Linked DNA regions of Homo sapiens: regions 1, 2 and 3 are each linked to region 4. The links are contacts of gene promoters, found by promoter capture Hi-C in blood cells and fetal thymus (Javierre and others, 2016). All regions are on one chromosome and are shown on one strand. Each heading gives the region's core, a stretch centred on a gene start or on the middle of the fragment in contact. The rest is flanking DNA. Distances are from core to core; before and after follow the strand shown. Region 1 has its middle 22 kb from the start of CHIT1. Region 2 has its middle 14 kb from the start of FMOD. Region 3 overlaps LOC124904486 (a long non-coding RNA gene). Region 4 holds the start of ATP2B4 (ATPase plasma membrane Ca2+ transporting 4).

Evidence for each region. The method cuts DNA at HindIII sites, captures the fragments that hold promoters and counts their contacts. A CHiCAGO score of 5 or more calls a contact.
Region 1: a fragment that was not itself captured here is called in contact with the fragment with the promoter of ATP2B4 in region 4 in 3 of 17 cell types (naive B cells, total CD8 T cells and fetal thymus); the score reaches 6.5 in naive B cells.
Region 2: a contact is called between a fragment that was not itself captured here and the fragment with the promoter of ATP2B4 in region 4, in 1 of 17 cell types (activated CD4 T cells). The highest score is 5.6, in activated CD4 T cells.
Region 3: a contact is called between a fragment that was not itself captured here and the fragment with the promoter of ATP2B4 in region 4, in 7 of 17 cell types (activated CD4 T cells, non-activated CD4 T cells, total CD8 T cells and 4 more). The highest score is 8.0, in activated CD4 T cells.

The regions. Positions count from the first base shown.
Region 1 is chr1:203,250,136-203,253,170 of GRCh38, forward strand. No RefSeq gene overlaps it. Among named protein-coding and RNA genes, the nearest start is that of CHIT1, 22 kb to the left of the region's middle. The HindIII fragment of the contact is 166 bases long and covers 1,514-1,679 here.
Region 2 is chr1:203,335,447-203,338,489 of GRCh38, forward strand. No RefSeq gene overlaps it. Among named protein-coding and RNA genes, the nearest start is that of FMOD, 14 kb to the right of the region's middle. The HindIII fragment of the contact is 4,053 bases long and covers 1-3,043 here.
Region 3 is chr1:203,268,209-203,271,207 of GRCh38, forward strand. LOC124904486 (a long non-coding RNA gene) reads right to left here. Exons shown (of 2, transcript XR_007066798.1): 2 at 1-2,999. Among named protein-coding and RNA genes, the nearest start is that of LINC01353, 17 kb to the right of the region's middle. The HindIII fragment of the contact is 1,041 bases long and covers 864-1,904 here.
Region 4 is chr1:203,625,547-203,628,536 of GRCh38, forward strand. ATP2B4 (ATPase plasma membrane Ca2+ transporting 4) reads left to right here and starts at 1,286. Exons shown (of 21, transcript NM_001684.5): 1 at 1,286-1,673. RefSeq lists enhancers at 280-1,154, 1,155-2,027. The HindIII fragment of the contact is 13,651 bases long and covers 947-2,990 here.

The DNA of each region.
Region 1 (3,035 bases), core at 347-2,846, 380 kb before region 4:
TACAAAAATTAGCCAGGCATGGTGGCATGCACGTGTAATCCCAGCCACTTGGGAGGCTGAAGCAGGAGAATCGCTTGAACCCAGGAGGCAGAGGTTGCAGTGAACAGAAATCTTACCACTGCACTCCAGCCTGGTGACAGAGTGAGACCTTGTCTCAAAAAACTAAAACTAAAAGGTAGGTATTATCCACATAACTGATCTTTTTAATCTTGATTACCAGGCCGGGATACTATTTGCCAGGTTTCTACTTCTCCACCTGGCTTCCCTATTCTACTCTTTGGAAGCGAGTCAGTAAGTGCAGCCCACACTCTAGGGGTGAGGAGTTAAGCTCCACTTCCTTGGGGAAGAAGCAACTACATACCTTTATTATATAATTCTGTATGGGACATTTGTCCCTTCTCTCCCATTTATTTACTATATCATTTATTTATATCCATATGGACTCATAGATATTTATTTATGTTTTGAGTTATAATCAAATACTATTAGTACATTATTTATTTTGCTGCTCAAATTTTTCCAGCTTTGGCCACCGAGAGCTCTTTAATGTTGGCTTGTTTCAGTCAGCATAAAGTTTTTGAGACTCATCCATTTTGTTGTTATCAGTAGTCTGTTTCTTTTAATTGCAAGAAGTATTGTATTTTATGAATATATCCCACTTCATAAACATTGGGTTATTTCCAGTTTTGGCTATCAGAAATGCAAAGCTTCTATGAACAGTTATGTATACGTCTCTTCGTGGACATATGTTTTCATTTACTTTGAATAAATACACAGGTGTAAAATTAGAGTCATCAGCTAGCTTTATGTTTAATAAGAAGCTACCAAGCAAGCAACTTTTCAAAGTAATTGTGCCATTTCACACATCCAAGAGCAACGTGAGAGTTTTTGTTATGTCAAATGCTTGCCAACATGTGGTGTTGACAGTCTTTATAATTTTAGACATTCTAGTAGGCATGTAGTGATTCATTATGGCTTTAATTTGCCTTTGCCTGCTGAGTAATGATGTCGAGCACTTTTTTTATATGTCTTTGTCCATTCATATGTCTTTGTTTGCTTCTGAAAATGTTGCTCAAGTCTGTCATCCACATTTTTATTGTGTTAGAAGTTCTTTATTATTCTGGATAGAAATCCATATTCAGATATATGTACTGTGAATGTTTTCTACCAGCCTTTGGTTTTGCCTGTTCGTTTTCTTAGCTGAGTCTTTTTTTTTGTATTGTGGTAAAAACCACACAACATTAAACCATCCTAAACATTTTTAAATGTACATTTCAGTACTGTTAAGTATATTCACTTGTGCAACAAGTCTCTAGAAATTTTTCTTCTTGCAACACTGAAACTCTATACCTACCAAACATGAATTCCCCATCCCACCTCCCGCAAGTTCTTGGCGACTACCTTTTTACTTTATGTTTTGAGGATTCTGACTTATTTAGATACTTTATATGAGTGAATTATACAGTATTTGTCCATTTGTGACTGGCTTATTTCACTTAGCATAATGTCCTTAAGCTTCATTCATGTTGTAACATGCCCTTTTTTAAGGGCACATAAAATTCCATTATGTGCATATACCACATTTTCTTATCCAATTACCTGTTATTTCCTCCTGTTGGCTATTGTGAATAATCCTGCAATGAACATGGGTGTGCAAATATCTCTGAGATCTGCTTTGAAGCTTTTTGGCTATATACCCAAAAGGGGGATTGCTGGATCATATGATAGTTCTATTTTTAATGTTTTGAGAAACTCCATACTGTTTTTCATAACATCTGTATAATTTACTTTCCCACCACCAGTGCATGAGGACCCAAACTTCTCTGCATCCTTGTCAACACTTGTTATTTCCTGTTATTTTTATAATGGCTATCCTGATGGGTGTGAGGTGATATCTCATTGTGAGTTTTATTTACATTTCCCTAGTGATTAATGATGTTGAGCATATTTTCATGTACTTAATAACCATTCATATATCTTCTTTGGAGAAATGTCTATTTAAATCCTTTGCCAGTTTTTAAATTGGATTATTTGGGGTTTTTCTTGTTGTTAAGTTGTACAAGATCCTTATATATTCTGGATATTGACCCCTTATCAGATATATGACTTGCAACTCTTTTCTCCCATTCCATAGGTTGCCTTTTCTCTCTGTTGACTGTTACTTTGATGTGTAAAAAAACTTAAGTTTTATGTAGTACTATTTGTCTATTTTTTATTTTGTTGCCTGTGCTTTTGGTATCATATCCAAGAAATTATTGCCAAATCCAATTGTTGGCATATAATTGCTCATAATGGCATTTACATTTTAAGAAATTGCTGATAGTGAAGGACTTACTGTTGCCATTTTGTTCATTGTGTTCTGTTTCACTTGTAGCTTTCTTTGTCCCCCCCCCCTTTTTTCTTTTGATAATTTCTTTTGTGTTTCATTAATTTTTTTTTGTGGCCACAGATTTTGATTCCCTTCTCACTTCCTTTCCTTTACAGTCTTTGTCCATTTTCTGTTGCTGTAACAGAATACTTGAGACCAGGTAATTTATTTTTTAAAAAGAGGTTTGTTTAGCTCACAGTTCTTGATGCTGGGAAGTTCAAGATCAAACAGCTGCATCTGACGAGGGTCTCATGCTGTGTCATAACATGGAGGATGGCATCACATGGTGGTTATGCATGTGAGAGCACTGAGCGGGTACACACACAAGAGAGAAAACATGAGGGGTGACCTCACTTTATAACAACCCACTCTTGCGGTAACTAATCCAGTCACTGAAGAGCAATAATTCACTCCTGTGAAATGGCATTAATCCCTTCATAAGGACAGATGGCTTATGACCCAAATGCCTCTTAAAGGTCCCACCAGTTCTCAACACCATTACATGGGGAACAAGCCTTAACATGAATTTCAGTGGGGGATAAACCATATTCAAATCATAGCACTTACATTCTATAGTTACTGTCTTTGTGGTAACCATTGCAATTACGTGAAACATAACCTCTTAATGTTTTAACAATCTACTTTTAATGAGTACCATGTGGTGGTT
Region 2 (3,043 bases), core at 101-2,600, 290 kb before region 4:
AGCCCTCAGGGCTGTTCTGGGTCCACTCCCCTGCTGCCATAAGGACATCCCCTCTGCTCCTGGCTTACCCTTGCTACAGGGCTTGGAACTGCTTATGCCCCTGACGCCTTGACCGTGTGTATACCTTGATTGTATATATCTGTTTCTACTTTGGGACTTGAGTTTTCTGGCTCCTTCCTTGGAATAGCTTTCCGCACACCTTCTTGTGCAAACTGCCATTGTTGGTCTTGTTATCTGACTCAGATCTACCTCTGGGACTGCCAGCTAAGCCTGGCACTGATAGCATGCTTCTGTTATTGTCCCTGCCTGCCTCCAGAGTCCTATTTTGCCAAAACTCATGGCTCTGATGAACACTTGTGGAGAAAATGTGGGGATTATTGGGGTAGAATACAAGGACAAAGCTGCCGATTCTCTATTTCTGGTGGGTTGTAAGAAAGTTCAAGACTGACCCCTCTGATTTCCAATACTCTTGCTTATGTAGGTAGGTCTTCTTATTGCCTCTTGGAACTCTGACCCATTTCCTGTTTTTATTTCTTAAACTGGGTCAAATGTACTTCTGTTCTTTCTCCCCTACGTGTAGCTCACAATCTGGACACATAGATGGAAACAGCTCATTTATCTTTAGTGTTTGCAGTTTCTTTTGGAGCCCAGCATGGCTGGGCATGGTCTGCTTGGTCCTTTTGTCCATTCCAGTCTTTCTGGACTCATTTCCCCCTTCTTCTGCTCCCTGGACCACACGGTCCAGGAAAGGATTAGGTCCAGTTTATTGTGCCATTTCATGCAGCACATATGAGCATGGCCTAGTTTCCAGAAAAGTTTCCTACTCTGGAAACCTGGGCTGCTACAAGATTGAGCAATGTGTTTGCTCCATCTGGGCACAACTTTCTAGCCTAGGTACCCAGAGGCTCAGCTGGCAACAGGAGTCATGTCTACTAGCTCCCATCTGTCTGAGGCAGAAGAATTTCTGGGAGAGTTTGAGGTCTACACAGGATACTGAGTCTCCTGATGATATACATCAACTGTGGACCCTGCATCTGAGTGCTTAGTAGAATAAATGGCTGAGCTAGCAAACAAAGCTAACAAAGAAGTGCATTGCAAGCCCCCAGTGAGAGGGAGCTTGGGGCTGTTCTGCAGCATTCCTGGCTACCCTGCCCCTCATCATTCCCCACCCTTGGAAAAAAAAAATGAACATTTTGTCCCTATGCCTTAATTGGCACTTATAGCAAACTACCTCATGGGTTCTTGAATGAACTAGGTGTCTTTTAAGTTGTTAAGGTAAAACAAATGTTAGTTATTATTATTTCTATCACATGCCATGGCAAGAACCTTGAGAACTTTACATTCAACTTTCACATACTAAATGCAGCAACTACTGACACATTATCTAGCTCAAGGTTTGCATTCAGTAAAAATTTGTTGAGTGATTAAGCTATGTTCATAGAGAGAAAAGACGATGATTTGCCTATTTTTCTTGCCTTCCCTCTATGATCCATGTTTCTGCTTGTCTTTCCTTGGCTTGACTTAGAGAGAAATGGGAAATCCTATCTTTGTTTTTCATACATCTAACAGAAATGTAGCATTCCTTTCAATTATGAAGGTAACAAACCACAGCCTTATTAGCAGTACCTGAGGCTTTGTCACCAGCTGAAATCACATATATTTTTATTTATTTTTTATTTTTTGAGATGAAGTCTCGCTGTTGCCCAGGCTGGAGTACAGTGGCTCTATCTTGGCTCACTGCAGCCTCCGCCTCCCAGGTTCAAGCAATTCTCCTGCCTCAGCCTCCTGAGTAGCTGGGACTACAGGCATGCGCCACCATGTCCAGCTAATCTTTGTATTTTTAGTGGAGACAGGGTTTTATCATGTTGGCCAGGCTGGTCTTGAACTCTTGACCTCAAGTGATCCATCCGCCTGAGCCTCCCAAAGTGTTGGAATTACAGGTGTGAGCCAGAGCACCCGGCCCACAGATTTTTTTTTTTTTTTTGAGACGGAGTCTTGCTGTGTTGCCCAGGCTGGAGTGCAGACCGCTCACTGCAAGCTCCGCCTCCCGGGTTCACGCCATTCTCCTGCCTCAGCCTCCCGAGTAGCTGGGCCTACAGGCACCCACCACCACGCCCAGCTATTTTTTTTGTATTTTTTAGTAGAGACGGGGTTTCACCGTGTTAGCCAGGATGTTCTCTATTTCCTGACCTCGTGATCCGCCCGCTTCGGCCTCCCAAAGTGCTGTGATTACAGGCATGAGCCACCGCGCCCGGCCAGCCACCGCGCCCGGCCAAGATATTTTTATATCACATTACAGTTGTTAAAATAGTTTGATATGCCATTTACATGCATCAATAGTTTGAAATGACTATAATTAACTAGACCTGTTGCTAAATCTTGTTATTCATCGACTTAATAAAGAAACATATATATTATTATATCAAAAATGTATATGTTTTATATTTTGGTAACTGTACTTCAATGTAATTAGTTTCCTTTGTAATCCTTTACAAAGTCTTTGTAAGCCTAGGCATGTGGCCTAGGCGGGCAGATCGCTTATGTCCAGGAGTCGGAGACCAGCTTGGGCGACATGATGAAACCCCATCTCTACAAAAAAGCCAAAAGTTAGGTATGGTGGTACATGCCTGCAGTCCCAGCTACTTGGGAGGCTGAGGCAGGCAGGAGGGTTGTTTGAACCCAGGAGGTGGAGGTTGCAATGACCTGAGATCGCGCCACTGCACTCCAGCCTGGGTGAGAGTGAGACCCTGTTTCAAAAAAAAAAAAAAAAAAAAGGCCGGGAGTGGTGGATCACGCCTGTAATTCCAGCACTTTAGGAGGTCGAGGTGGGCGGATCATGAGGTCAGGAGTTCGAGACCAGCCTGACCAACATAGTGAAACACTGTCTCTACTAAAAATATAAAAATTAGCCGGGCGTGGTGGCGCACACCTGTAATCCCAGCTACTCAGGAGGCTGAGACAGGAGAATCGCTTGAACCCGGGAGGCGGAGGTTGCAGTGAGCCGAGATTGTGGCACTGCACTCCAGCCTGGGCGACAGAGCGA
Region 3 (2,999 bases), core at 134-2,633, 360 kb before region 4:
GAGACTGAGACAGGAGGATCGCTTGAGCCCAGGAGTTCAAGATCAGTCTGGACAACGTAAGGAGACCCTGTCTCTTCAAATATATATATATATATATATATATATATATATACACACACACACACACACATATACATATGTGTATATATACATATATATGTGTGTATATATATACACATATATGTGTGTGTATATATGTATATATGTATATAATTATATATGTATATATGTGTATATATACGTATATAATTATATATACACACATATATGTGTATATATGTAAAATTAGCCAGGCATGGTGGTACGTACCTATGGTCTCAGCTACTCAGGAGGCTGAGGCAGGAGGATCGCCTGAGCCCTGGGGTGTTGAGGCTGTGGTGAGCTGTGATGGTGCCACTGCACTCCAGCCTGGGGCAGGGACTGAGACCCCATCTCAAAAAATAAAAATAAAAAGAATGGAAAGAACCAATGAAATCTTGATGCTATTAACACCTCTGAATATTTCACTGGTTTCTAGAATCCACACAAAACAGGAATCCTACAGAATGATGGCTTGCAGAGGACATTGTAACAGGGCAGTCAAACCAGTTGGAGAAGTGTGCTCTGTCCTATAAAAACGTGCTCCTTCCTGACGTCTACCCCATGTTGGTGGGCCCATGATCTCCTCCTAGACCTCTCAGCTGAAATCAGTCCTGTCCCTGTGTTTGGTGTCCTTCATACCCTCTCGTGGCTGCCTCCCTGCCACGGCCCTGGCTCAGGCCCTGGTCACCTTGCCTAGGGTAGTGGCTTCCCTGGGAATGCCATCTCCACTCAATACTCCTTCTGGTGCTAGAGTGCCCTGCTCAAGGCCTCACCTCCCACGAAGCTTCCTGAACAGCTTAACTCACTGTTTCTTCCTGTTCTGCCCTCTCCTATTATCTGTGCAAATCTGAAGGCACTTTCTGCTCTGTCATGTACCTGATCTTTCCTGCCAGCCTAGACTGCTTTGATGAAAACTGCATCAGATAGCAGAGGAAACACTTATTTGTATGGAAGTGGCGTCCTCTGCTGGTAGAAGTATGTAATGACTGGAACTTTTCCCTAGCTGTGTAAAGGACCCTCACTGCCCAAAGCTGAGACAACCAGTGATACCCAAGGAAACCCAGCTGCCCTTCTCTCTGCCCACCCCAGTCCCTAAGCATGTAAAATTCAATCCACTGACTCACTCACCAGATTTCCACACCTCACTATTACACTAAGATGTTCCTGATGCTCCAGTCTCATGGATAATGGCAATCTTTAACATTAATTGGATATGCACTGTATATGCCAGGCACTGGGCTAATCTCTTCATCTGTATTATATTATTTAACCCTCATAGCAACTTTGTACGGCAGACAAGTGGACCAGATTCCTTAAAAGCAGAGCCTGGGACAGATTTCATGCATATCTTCTTCTGTTGGGGAAGAACCCTCAGAAGAAAGAAAAGGAAGGAGAGTGGGGTGGGGAAGGAGGGAGCCAGGCTGTGGTGTCAGCTGTGGCTGAGCTGCGGCCTGATTTCATGGGGATCCCTGAAGCATGTGCTACACCAGAGTTCATCTTGTCTTGAGGTCGGGGACTGGCCTTTCCTGCCCCTGTGTCAGACAAGCATCGGCTGCAAGCCCCAAGTAAGGCAGCTTCCATTCCCGGGGAAGTCTCTGCAGAGGGAATAACTGTGAACTGTTACCAGCCAAACCTCACAGCAGCCGGTGGGCAGGGATGGAGGGTTGCACCAGACCAGTAAAGGGGATTTGGCTGGGCACTAATAGCAACCATGGTACTGTTATTTCTACTGTACAAATGCAGAATTATAATCTTCCAGGTTTGTAGATACTTTATAGATTTTGAGTGTTTTCATATTCATTACCTCATTCAATGTTACAGTAAGCTTGAGAGGTAGTGATCATGATCCCCACTTTATGAATGAGAGTGAGAAGTGGGAGACTTCCTCAGGATTGTCCAGCCAATAAATACCTTCTCTGTTTATAAATAGCGTCTTCTCAGATACATAGGCAGCTGTATTGGGTCCCAGTCCAACCTCTTCCCTGTGACATTCAGGCTCTGGTCGTTTACCAAGGATCTTACAGCCCTTTTAACTCAAAAGAGCCATGAAGCTGGCAACCTTCCTTGCTGAGACTAGGTACGAGGATACACCTCCTATCAGGTGAGGCCTTACCTTGCCTGCCTGACACTTTGCTGGGCTCAGAATGCTTCTCCAAATTCCCCCATGGAAAGAAGACACCCGGGCACTTCTCACCTGCTCCTGCTTCTGCAGTTCCCTTGGCAGTTTCCTTAGAGGTGTCCCAGCAAGCTAGAGTCTGTCAGAGGACATTGAGGGCCAGGCCAGAGAAGTTTAGAAAGAGTCCCAGGACTACCTGAGCACTGCCTTCACCTGCCACAGGGGTAGCTGTGCAGCCAGTCTTGTGGCAGAGGCTGGGGTTTCCTGGATCTTAGAAGTGTCACCTCTTCCACCCTCTCAGGGCCCTGGACTTTCGCCCTCAAGCTGCCTCTGGATCTAGCAAAGGCCCTGAGCCATCTTTGGAATGGATGAGTTCGAAAAGCTGCATTAGAGTGGCTCCCCTCCTTCAACGCCACCTCATCAGAGTTCTAAGGGATGCTTCACACCTAAGAGCTGATGAGGTACAGCAGGAGCACACAGGGGACCCAGAAACCTCGCATTGTGTTGAGAAACAGCTGACTGACTCAGGTTCAAATCCCCCACTCTATCACAGGGCATCTCAGTTAAGATGAGGTAGAAATGAGAGTAACAGAAAATTCACAACAGCAGCAATTGTGTTGTTATTGAGTGGCCCTTGCCCTCATGGTACAAGGTAGCACCTGCCTACCAAGTAGCAAAACAGAGGGAGGGACAAAGAAGAAGGAGCAGACAGCAGATGCACAACCTGTGTCTTAAGAAAGGTTCCCAGACACTGCTGCATAACGCGTCTACTTACTTCTCTTTGGCCAGAACTCAGTCATGT
Region 4 (2,990 bases), core at 36-2,535:
GTTAGAATGATAGGATCAAAGAGGCCTTTTCCCAACCCTCTGTTTAAAAGGTTGGGAAGTAGTGGCCAGTCACCTTCTTCACAGCATAGCTCATAGCTATAACCTGTGAGACATATGTCAATGTGCCTTCCATAAGCATATAAACATGAGTGTGTTTGCTGAGGTAGGTGTGGGAATCTGTCAGTCAATGAAGATATGTTGTGTGAACCAGCTGATGGTGCATGTTTGTGCTTGAAAGCCATAAAGTTCTATGCAAAATCTATGGGTGGCACTGTTGCACAATGCTAGTGGGTGTGTGGGTATGGGGGTGTGATTAACTGTTTACAGGCTGTGTATAAGTGTGCATGGATGTCTGAGTGTGTGCAAATTAAAACGGAAATATGTGCCGGAGTATGATACAAAGTACAGGAAAGTACTCGGGCTTTGGAGTCTGTCTGACTTGGTCTTGAATCGTTGGCTCTGTCATTAGCCGGATGTATAACCTTGGGCCAGACACTCAATCTTCAATTCCCTCAACTAGGAAATGAGGTTAATAATAAGTACCTTTCAAGATTAAATGAGGACTAGAAACGATACCATATAGACAAAGCTTTTGGTGTCATAGCCCACGCATAGCAGGACTCAAAAGTAAGCAGCTATTTTCATGCACTGTCAGTATACCTCTGGTGGGTACAGGGACAAGAGGGAACAAAATGTGACCTGTATATAAGGTGTAGGGGAGGACGGGTGTGTGTGTGTGTGTGTGTGTGTGTGTGTGTGTGTGTGTGTGTGTGTTTACAAAACAATTTATTCTCCTTCTCCAAGGAACCCCCTATTCAGACAGGAGCAGGAAGGTAGGAGGGGACATACAAGTGTCCACAGACACCTCGGGTTTCTGGGTCCTGGATCTAAGTGAGTAAGGGGTTGAGAGGCCCGTAGGAGCTGCAGGAAGCCAGCCGCCTGCCCAAGCTTCCTTTTTTTTCCCCTCCGCCCAGCAACCGTTGAATACCGCCACCCACATCCACTCCCCACCTCCACCCTCACCCCTCCTCCACCCCTACTCAGCTTTCTATTCAACAAGTGAGAGCAAGGGCGGGGAAGAAAGCCGACAGGGGAGAGGATTGCTTCCCTTTCTTTTCCCATTCCCCCTTAAGACGAACCAGGAAGTAACCGCAAGAATCGGGCCACCTTAACAGTAGAGTAATGGTTTGGCCTCGCGCCAAGTCCCACCTCTGTTCCAGCTCCTGCTCCTCCCCTCTCTCTTCCCGCACTGCTTGGGGAGAGCTGGTGAGCAAGAGTCTGGCCCGAGTTAGCTAGAGCTGTTGCCATGACAAGCATTTTCTTAAGAAAGCTCTGCTGTTGAGATCGTCCAAAGCTGGGGGCTGGGAGGGGGGGCACGAACTTCGTGGGGCACCATCCCTCCGAAGAGAGCAAGATCAGAGACACCCGCCCAGCTCTCCTGCACCCTTTTTCTTTCAGGAACCTGAGAGGTCCTTCCCATTGGAGGGGCAGGGGGAGGAGACCCAGCCCACTCCCCGGCCTTAGCCAGAAAGGCAAGAGAGCAAAGCCAGCGTCTCTAGCTTGGTTGCCACACTGGGGAGACTGGTGGGTGGTCACCCCACCCTACCCTCATCCATGGAAACCCGGAGGGAGAGTCCCGCCTGAAGAAACCTGGATCTTTGCTAGAAAGAGAGGTAGGCTTGCAGAGAATGAATTGACTTGTGATTTGCAAACTTTGTTTCTTTCTTTTCTCTCAATGGCTTCTAAAACTCCCCGATTTTCCTCTTTCTAGAATATTTCATGCGACTGGGTTTGGAGGATTTTTTTTAAAATATGTGTGTGTGCACAGATTTGTCAAATACTGTTTTACCTATTATCAGTTCTGAGAAACCATATAGTCGAACAAGTGATTTATCTCTCTTTTCCTAGTTCTTGTCATTCCTGGGCTATGGGGTAGGGTAATGGAGGGTTCTCTTTTTGACACCAAAATTGAGCTCTTGGAAAAAATATTTATCTCCCCTCCCTCAACCCATTCCGTTCCTGCCCTCCCCTTCCCCCCTTGGCTTGGGAATGAGACGCAGGATGGAAAACTGTTGCAAAAATATTTTCCGTGTCTGTTCCCTTTCTCGAAAGCCCAAAAGAGAGATGGAAAAAAAAAAAAAAAAGGAACCAAAGAAATCTTCAGCAGAAAGAGGGGCTGCAGCGGGAACTAGGAGAGGGGCACTTTGGGGCCATGGGGTGGAGGTGGGCTGGGAGAAGTTGGCAGGAGTGGGGAAGGAGAGTGCACGAATTAAATTTCTTTAGCTTTGCAGAGAAACCTCAGCAGTTTCTCTGTGCTGCTTGCAAAACATCCTCAGACTTTCACATGTATAATTAGCTGTGGAAAAAGCTGGGAGTTACCTCGTACCGCTGTTGTTTGAGTGTGTGTGAGCGTCCAGAACCAACTGTATGAGTGTCTCCGAGGGCACCGCCCCACACATCTCTGGTCCCAAAGGGGAGGAAGGAGAAGGGTGAATTGAAAAGTTTCCGATGTCGAGGCTGGACACTGTGGGGCTGGTGAGTGTTTGGCAGATGGGGTGGGCCACAGGCATCTGTGGAAGGATCCCTGAGCGTCTCGGGCCACTGCCTTGGCTTGCTGAAGAGCTAGGAATTAAGACTGGGATTGTCCTTCCTGCTCTCCCTTCTCTCTTTCTTTTACATACTTGGCTCGCTCTTGGTAGAGGGGGCTGCTGGCATCCTTCCCCGAGTCGAGTCTGGCCTCTTACACTCCTCCACCTCCCTGAGGGTACCCGCCGCTCTTCTCCAACTGGGTGTGGAGGGTGCAGGAGTGGCCAGCCGCATCTTGGGAGGGGAGTGGGCACTCTGCTGCCAGAGGCACGTCCCTCCTGGGCATTCCTGCCGGACTTAACAATAACTTGCAGACGTGATGCCGGCGCCTGCTGGCCGGGCAGGGGGAATGTCAGATGAAGAAATAGGCCGGTACTCAACTGAGGCCCCTGTGGAGAGGGGAA